Regions from separate parts of the Homo sapiens genome. Here region 1 is linked to region 2. Evidence: promoter capture Hi-C in 16 types of primary human blood cells and fetal thymus (Javierre and others, 2016). All regions are on one chromosome and are shown on one strand. The core of a region is centred on a gene start or on the middle of the fragment in contact, and the rest is flanking DNA. Distances in the headings are between cores, read along the strand shown.

Region 1 (4,898 bases), core at 2,095-4,594, about 100 Mb after region 2:
AGAAGATAGTGAAAGAGCATTCATAAATTTTTGAGAGAAAAGGACTGCCACCCAAGAATTCTATCCCAACAAAGAGTAAAAGGAAAGTATTTTGGCGTATGTTATCACTCATTTATCCAATTGAGAGAAACGGCCAAAAAAAATAAATGAATAACAACTGAATCATAGTAGAGATAGAGGAGGAAAAGAGAAGACCTTATGACATATGTAATTAAATCTAACTAGGGAATAGTAAAGAAATTGGACAGAGATATATGATAAAAAAAAATTCAGTGCATTAGAATTAAAATAAAGCATCTAAACAAAAGGAATATTAAAATCAGACCAGTGTACAGTAGTATCTTTATCTGCAGTTTCATCTCCGCAGTTTCAGTTACCCTTGGTCAATCATGGTTCAAAATATTAAAAGGGAAATTCCAGAAACAAACAATTGGTAAGTTTTAAACTGTGTACTGTCTGAGTAGTGTGAAGAAATTTCTCACCATCCTGCTCCATCCCACCCAAGACATAAATCATCACTTTGTCCAGCACATCCACCACTTTGTCCAGCACATCCACCACTTTGTCCAGCATATCCACACTGTGTATACTACCTGACCGTTAGCCATCAACATCATCTGCTCCTGATATCCAATCATCAACATCATCGTGGCTTGATGATCCAGAATCACCAGAAGCAGATGCTCCTCCTTCTGAAGTATTGTCAGAAGGTTAATAGTAGCCTAACACTACATCACAACACCTACATTCTTCACCTCACTCGCTCTCATCACATAGACATTTTATCTCTCACATCATCGCAGGAGGAAGGGTACAATATAATATTTTGAGAGCGAGAGAGACCACTTTCACAAAACTTTTATTACTTTATTACTTCTATTGTTATAATTGTTCTATTTTATTATTAATTATTGTTAATCTCTTACTGTGCCTAATTTATAAATTACACTTTATCACAGGTATTTATGTATAGGAAAAAACATAGTATTAATATAGAAAGGGTTCAGTACTATCCATGGTTTTAGGCATCCACTGGGAGTCCTGGAATGTATCCCCTGGGATAAGGGGAGATGCCTGTACAAGGAAACTGCAAGTGACTATTTCCAACAGCTTTTTTGTTTGTTAGTTTTTACCTGGTTTGCAAGATGAGAGTGACCAAACAGCTTGTGACCCAATTTCCCGTACTGTTCCAGTCCTTTCCAACTGCTTGGGGTCAGCACCAGGAGGTGTCTTGTTTGGTGTAGTCATTTTTAAAATATTCTATGTAGAAAACAAGAATGCACACATTGTATCAGGAACTGGGCATCTTTCTACAAAAGTTTTTTACCAAGAAAAATTTAATGGAACTCATATACCCTGACATTAATCATTTATTCTGAAGAATGCAGTTAATATAATTAAATCACTGTAATTTAAATCTTAGGGGCTGGGCATGGTGGCTCACACCTGTAATCCCAACACTTTGGGAGGCTGAGACAGGAGGATCATGTGAGCCCAGGAGTTCAAGACCAGCCTGGACAACATGGCAAGACCCCATCTCTATTTTTAAATAAATAAAAATCTTAGGAATTCAGGTTTTGTTTCATATGACCAGATATGCAAAGCAGTGAGCTATAGTAGTCAAAAGAGCACAGAATCAAAGTTTTGGCTTCAGTATCTCCTTTAATCAGCCTAGACTTTGAGTAGGTCTGGGCTTTATTTCCTCTCCTGTTAAAGAGGTTCACTTGATGATTTTTACTTCTACAATGCTATGCAGTTCTATAATTCTGTGCCTGAAAATTCAAATGACTTTTAGCCCTAGAAAAGTCAGACTGAAATACTTTTATTCTAGGAATATATAAATATTGATCCTCATTTTATTTACTTAATTCCTTTTTTTTTAGAGACAGGATCTAGCTATGTTACCCAGGCTGGTCTTGAACACCTTGCTTCAAGCGATCCTCCCACCTCAGCCTCCCAAGTAGCTGGGATTACAGGTGTGATCCCATCACCCCACTAAGATCCTCATTTTAAATATTCATTGAGTGATGCAGAGAACAGTCATACCTGCCCTCTAGCTGTCAAAAGTTTTATTTAAGACCCAGCCCGGTGGCTCACACCTGTAATCCCAGCAGTTTGGGAGGCCAAGGCAGGTGGATTGCTTGAGCCCAGGAGTTCGAGACCAGCCTGGAATATGGTGAAACCCTGTCTCTAAAAAAATTCCAAAAAATCAGCCTGGTGTGGCGGCACACACCTGTAGTCCCAGGGGGGCTGAGACAGGAGGATCACCTGAACTGGGAGGCGGAGGTTGCAGTGAGCCGAGATCGTGCTACTGCACTCCAGCCTGCGTAACAGAGCAAGACACTGTCCCAAAAAGCACAAAAATAAGAAAAAAATGTTAAAAGTTCACTTACATATGCTCTTACCATAGAAGATAAGGTCAGGAAAATGGCTTCAAGATTTTGAAGTGAATAACTGGCCCATTCTAAAAAGGTTGACCTCATCTTTCACATCTTTTGTTAATTTTACTAAGTCTATTCATATGTGAAAAAACACTTCAATACTGGATCGTGAACAATATGTAAAACTGCTTTGGTAGCGCAGTTACTGCTACTGAACATTGTTATATATGCTATTCAAAATAGGTGCAATAGTTCTGCATACCGTTTCCTTGACACCTCCCATTGTATCCGAAGTTGTTCTTTAATCGGCACACAAGCACTTGATACTTACTAAATAACGGCAGACACAACGGACTGTAAACTTTGGCAAGGCCTGAGGCTTAAACGCTCAATAAGTAATTTACTGAATGAATAAACAGATGAATAGGTTCAGTTATGAACTAGTTGTCACTTGCCTGCAAGTTAGGTGAGATCTAGGGCGAGACTATTCAACCTGCAACCATCATTACTAACTGAATGTCCTGTTACCTAAAAAAAGATAGAAATAAAGCCCATCTTTAGGGCAGAATTCAACTGCCGGACTTGGGACTGGACGCCACCAAGTGGATAAAATATGGAGCTCGGAAAAGATTGGATTCCCGGCCCTGAACTGACCACACAGTTGAGAGGAAGTTGAGGCCTAGAAGAGCGCGCAACAGTAAGCCGTGTCGGCACCAGACTCTGTTGGTCCTACTGACACCTCCAGCGTTAGAATGACTAAGGCTCCACTCCTGACCCACCGGCCTTGAGGAAAGCGCAAACGTAAAAAAAGATTGAAACCGGAGAGGCGAATGCATCTGTTTACGCTAGGACCACGCTCGACGTCGGAGAAAAGCCCACACACTCACAGTTTCCAGACCTGGCTGCTTGCCGAAACTCAGATTCTCGGCACCTCCAGCAGCTGGCTTCGCCAACGGCGTTGAACAAGGGTCGCAGCTCAATGACGTCATATCTCCCTACCTACCTCCAGGGTTCCGCCTCACGCTCTATGTCGCGCGCGCGCACTACGTCCTATGGCTTGCGCGTGCGGCGGCTGGGCACCGCCATTTTGGCCGGTGGCCGTGAGAACACGCTGTGTGGCTGAAAAGTGAAGGCAAGAGCTGATTTGGCCTCTGTGCTCCCCTCCGCAAGGGGATCGTTTTCTCCAGGTACGTGAATAGCCCGGAGAGGTTTGGCCGTTAGCTGCCATCTGCCAGGTTGGAAAGAATGTAGGGACGTTCTCCGAGAGCCTTTGGTTAGGCCTTAGGTGGCGGAGACAGCAGCAGCGCGTGGCAGCGGTTCCTGCGGGACAGCTGGAACTGATGGAGCGCGGGCGACGCCGAGAGCTTGGGGGCGCCTCGGTCTTCCCCTCCAGCCGACCCGGCTGTCGCCGCTGTTGCCTGCCACACCCGCGAGGGACTTCGAGAATGGACCTAGATGCCGTAGTCTCCACTCCCCCTTTACCCCACTCCCGCCCTGAAGCTAAACCTGCTGGAGAGGAAGGCACCTTTAGAACTTACAGCACTCTCTAGTACCCCCACACTCCTCCAGCACCCAAAATGGATATATTGTCACATGTGCATATTTGGTTGTGGGAAGTCGTGGCTTCCACGTTTTGTTGAGTGGAATGAGTCATGGCATCTTGCCGCCATGAAGTCGAATACTCGCTGTCCACTCCCAGGCTTTATAGAAATGATGCCCACATGTCACTCTGCTTTTCTCAGAACAGCGTGTACGCAGCTATGACTGGGGTTGTCCCAAGTAGTTTCCCAGTAGAAATCCTATAGTTTTTTTGGTACGCTTTTGTAGCACTAGGCACTTTCTCCCCTTACCCGTTTTTCCTTTTATTGTATCTAATACTCATTGAGATCAAGGTTGATGTCTTTACTCAGAATACCTTTATTATCTCTTCAGGGCTTCGTACATTGTAGGCATTTAATACGTATTGTGAATGAATGACAGCCAAAGCCGAATTCCCACCTCCCATTAACTACATAAGCTTATTTTCTCTTTTTTGATGGTAAAAATCTATAAGAGGAAGAACTGTCCAAATAACATGTTTTATTTTTTTACTCTTTCCCAACAGGACTGCTAACTAGTCATTTATGATAGTGGCATTTATGTTGCAGTAGTTTGTCCCATATTCTGAGAATATTCATTGTATACCAGCCACCTGACACTAATACTTTGTTAGTGTAACCAAAGGCTCAGAACCTGTATTTGAACCAAAAGCTGTTTGGGGTTTGTGAGCTTTTTGAGAACTTAGTTCTCCCCTATTTTAAAAAAGGGAGTTTTTTTGTTTGTTTGTTTGTTGGAAGAGCATCTAACAATTGGGAGAGAGGGGGAGAAAACAATATTAAGTTAGAGTTCTTCTAAATGTCTTAAACTTAAAACTCTTTGAAATCAGAGCCGTGTACCACTCCTAACTTCTACGTGTTTTGTAAGACTAATAAACTACAATAAGCATGGGTTAGACTATTTCATGTGATACTAAACATC
Region 2 (4,449 bases), core at 1,292-3,791:
GCAAAGATATTGCAAGAGATGAGCTTTAGTTTCCAAAAATTTGGATTCAAATTTTTTTTTGCATTTATCTATCATGTAATTTATCTATCATGTAATTTTAGACATTTTGCTTAATTTGTTTGAGTTTCCACAGCTAGTATATAACCTGACACAGTGGAGCTCAGTATTTTTCTAACAAATATGTTTTTCCATTTGTAGGCTGGGAAACATAATGTCAGCCTTATAAGATACTGCAGTTTTCTAAAGTGTGGGACAAATTCCTGTGGAGGCACCAAGATAGATACAGACATGGTATCAAGGATACTGTGTTATTCAGATAAAGTTTTTCTTTCAACCCTATTTAAATGCTTCTTGCTAGGTCAAAGAGAAAAATCTCAGTTTGAGGCTAATATTTTTAAATTCTTTTCTAATATCTGCTAATCTCCCTTTTGTAATCCAGACAGACCAAACCTACAATTGAATCACATTTTTTATTCACTACAGTTATATTTACTGTTACTCTTATGACAGCTCATCATGCTTTCTCCATTAATGGTATCTACGTTTTCTTTTAAAAAGAATTCATTTACATATAAAGGTAAGTTAAAGAAAAATATAAAGTACATAATATCGGTATGAGGATTGACAAAGATTCTTGACCAAACTCTAGCCTGACTCTTCTAAGCCCTCTTATCAGCAAAGCCTCAAACTTGCCTATAAAAACTACAGACCCTCAGCACAAATGATTTCATCCACATCCTTCCCCTACCGGTTTGCCCACACATTAAAAGACTTGAACAAACTCATATAGTTTATAACAGCTCAAGGCTGCATCTCTAAGATGAAGCCCCCTTAAATTTCTGTCTGAGAAAGCTCAAGACTGACAAAATAATTTATTTGTTCCAGCCAACATGTGAAAGTAGCACTCATTTCCTAGTGTCTGCGGGAAGGGTAGGAGCCTTATTTCCATAAGCAACAGTTTACAACCCAGATGGATTTCAAATGGACCATTCTTCCGCCATTGTTTTTTGTAAATTTCCGTTTCCCTGACTTTGATCAAGCCCAGTTGTTCTCTTTCCCTACTCCCGCATTCTCCTTTTAAAATACAGTCGCCTCTGGACAAATTGTAGTTTAGTTCATTCTGGATCTTATTCCCGATTGCATTAGTATATCACTATAATAAAAATCTGTCTTCACCACTTTAACTGGTGTCTGCCTTTATCTTTGACAGGATATGGTGAAAATTAATGAGGGTAATTGTGCAAATTATGGAAGTCTGGGCAACATTGAATATAAATTATTGTGTTTACTTCAAGATAGTTGTTAAATTCATTCTCTTACAAGTGTGACAGAATTAGTCGTCTATCAAGTACTGTTTTAATTCATAAAAGTTCCAAGAAAGGGCCAGGCGCGGTGGCTCACGCCTGTAATCGCAACACTTTGGGAGGCCGAGGTGGGCAGATCACGAGGTCAGGAGTTCGAGATCAGCGTGACCAACATGGTGAAACCCCGTCTCTACTAAAAATACAAAAATTAGCCATGATTGCTGGCGCGCGCCTGTAATCCCAGCTACTCAGGAGACTGAGGCAGGAGAATCGCTTGAGCCCAGGAGGCGGAGGTTGCAGTGAGCCGAGATAGCGCTACTGTACTCCAGCCTGGGCGACAGAGCGAGACACCATCTCAGGGGGGAAAAAAAAATCCAAGAAAGAACTGAGTCTGGTACAGAATTCTTGATCCTAAGAAATCCTCCAAATGAAGAAACTTTCAAAGGCTCTGGAAACAATACGAATGATTCTGTCTTCAGTCACAATGATGAACTGAACACAGCTGTCATCTCCCTCCTTCGCACCAAATTCTGGATATTCCAGAAAAGCGCAAGAGAAATAGTGGGAGACAAACACTGGATGCAATCCTCCTATCACCTGTTTTATCCCCCATTCTTACTTCGTCAGAGCTCATTCCATGAAGTGGTAACTTGATGACGATGGAAACATTGGGGGTCCAGCATGGAACTTTTTCCCACCTTTACTTCTTGCCAAAACCTTCCTGGATTCAGTATTGCAATCAATGTTATGGCCCGTTTCCTTTCAGATGCACTTCAAGATTAGCTCTGTCACTGACAACATGGGGAATACATTTCGACCTCCAGATTTTAAAAGTGCCATTATTATTTTGCCATTAGGTAGAAGGCTAAGTCTCAACGTTGTGCTAATAATAGCATCTTTAAGTCCCTGGACTAAGACCTCGGCTCCTGGTTCGGGAATCAGACTGCCTGGGCGGCACTCCAGGCTCCACAGCTCCCCACCTGTGAGCTCCTGGGCAAGTCACTCGGTCCGGATTTCCAGAGGTAGTTTGGGGGAACTGACAGTACACACACCACAGGGCAGTAGTAAGAAAGAGACAATGCAAAGGAATTGGCACAGCACTCAGCAGACAATATAAGCTAATATGTACTCTGTCTACACCCTGCGTTTTAGGGAGTCAATCGAAAGCCTCCACTCACGTGACCACTCCACTACCCGGCGCCAAGACGCGCTGATGTCACGACAGCGTGCGGCGTGCAGACGTCGGCAAGCTGCGCCGCCGCTTCGGGTTGCTTCCGGATCTGGTACTTGGGCAGAGCTCCCCGGGGTTCATTGTCTTCGCTTCACAGGATCTGTTTGAGTCCTGTCCACCGGATCCTACGGGGGGTACCTTCGAAAAAAAACGGGCTATGCTGCTGTTGCGTGTGGGTACCCTCTCCTGACGCCTCCGCCGCCCGGGTCATGTGGACCCTCGTGGGTCGGGGCTGGGGGTGCGCACGCGCTCTCGCGCCACGAGCCACTGGGGCCGCGCTTCTGGTGGCCCCGGGGCCCCGGTCCGCGCCGACCCTTGGGGCTGCTCCAGAGTCCTGGGCTACCGACAGGCTCTACAGCTCCGCAGAATTCAAGGTGACTGCCCCCTGGAATCTGATTTAGCCAAGTTTTCAAACGTTGGAGTGCCCCATGCGATCTTGGACATGTATAGGGCTTTCTGGGACTAGCTCTGAACCCTGCTTGCAACTTGGTACAGGGAGGCAGAGCGGAGAGTGTGAGCACTGCTCAGGTTCCCGACCCTCCACTCCTCACTAGTGTGACCTTGGGCAAGTCACTAACTTTGTAGGTTTTCTCATTTTCAATGTCAAATGTTGATTTGTTTACGCGAGCCACTGGTCGAAGTGCTTTGCGTTTATTCATCTATTTAATTCTAAAAAGCCTACTAAGCAAGTTGCTAGTAAATATTAATATAACGTCCATTTTCCTGCAAATTAAGTAGCTATGTGGCCTGGGCAAGTTACTACATTGTCACTCTCCTACTTCATTTGTTGAATGCAGAACTGATCAAACATCCAGTGGCTAATTTGTGAGATTTGTGTGATGTGAGAAGTGGACTTTTTTAGACTAATACCTAGAATGCAGGAAGTTCTCGGTCTGTCTTTGTAGTTTTATTTCATTCTACCTCAGCCAGAGCAAACCTGTGTAATTTTGACTCTGGTGGGAGAGGGTGGGAGGTTCAACAACTCTGATAATTGTGAATGGATACATTTTAGTCAGAAAAGTGAAGTGACTGAAGGCAAGCTATAAGTAGGCAGAAAGACAAAACCTTAAATTAATCAACTTTGGCCCTAATATGCCTGTGTTTTTAAAAATGGATTTATATTGCAATTCGAAGTATAAAGATGGTGCAATTCTCTATACCTTTTGAACTGAAGGGAAAGAAAATCTACAGGGCAAACATCAGAATTAGTTTTTTTTCGGCAGACTTTCAGCTATAATTGTGCTTTTATTATCTGTCTTTATGGGGCTATTAAAAAACAAAGCTCACGTGAATTTTATATTTCATTGTAATTTCATGGTTTTGCTGATTGTGAAATATGCAGTTGATTGGAAAAAAATAGAGTACAAAAAACTGGTATATTTTGCTTGATAACAATTTCTAGCAATTTGTGATGTGTTTCAGTAAAACGTTAAAGAAGATGTGTACACGAAAAACCAGGAGTTCCATTTTAAAATATTTTTAAGTTTTAAGTGATAAGTCTTTTGTTGGATGTCATCTTTTTTTCTTTCTCACCAGAGAAGCTGCAAAGTAGCAAAATTGTATTTAAAATAAAATTTTGAGGCTCCATTAGAGACACAGATTTTTAAATAAATCTGATTCCTGATTAAATGTGTGATAGGAGCAGAAAATTTATCTTCTTTCAGCTTTTCTGTAGCTCCATTGCCTCAAAAGTTTTACTAGACAAGGTATTCTCAGGCCTTTAGAAGTTCTAGGTGTCTCATGTTCTCCATTCACGATAATAAATTCAGTTCCTGATTGGCCCTAAAAATTGTGTAGAAATGTTAAGGGATTATGATTTAGCTGTATAGTTACCTTTGGCTATTAAACTGATGTTCCTTGTAATATGAACTTAGCCATACATGTCTTTTTCTTAGAATAATAATATAAACAATA

What was found. Contacts are between HindIII fragments. The CHiCAGO score rates a contact against its expected background, and 5 or more counts as called.
Region 1: the fragment with the promoter of ANAPC10 here is called in contact with the fragment with the promoter of GUF1 in region 2 in 1 of 17 cell types (total CD4 T cells); the score reaches 7.5 in total CD4 T cells.

Annotation. Positions count from the first base shown.
Region 1 is chr4:145,094,852-145,099,749 of GRCh38, forward strand. It overlaps ANAPC10 (anaphase promoting complex subunit 10), which reads right to left and starts at 3,345. Exons shown (of 5, transcript NM_001256706.2): 1 at 3,269-3,345; 2 at 1,134-1,260. The coding sequence starts at 1,248. ABCE1 (ATP binding cassette subfamily E member 1) reads left to right here and starts at 3,460. Exons shown (of 18, transcript NM_002940.3): 1 at 3,460-3,568. RefSeq lists enhancers at 2,600-3,471, 2,719-3,918, 3,052-3,101, 3,182-3,441, 3,472-4,343 and 1 more. The HindIII fragment of the contact is 4,584 bases long and covers 1-4,396 here.
Region 2 is chr4:44,675,879-44,680,327 of GRCh38, forward strand. It overlaps GUF1 (GTP binding elongation factor GUF1), which reads left to right and starts at 2,542. Exons shown (of 17, transcript NM_021927.3): 1 at 2,542-2,909. The coding sequence starts at 2,745. RefSeq lists an enhancer at 1,761-2,649 and a silencer at 2,721-2,880. The HindIII fragment of the contact is 9,672 bases long and covers 1-4,449 here.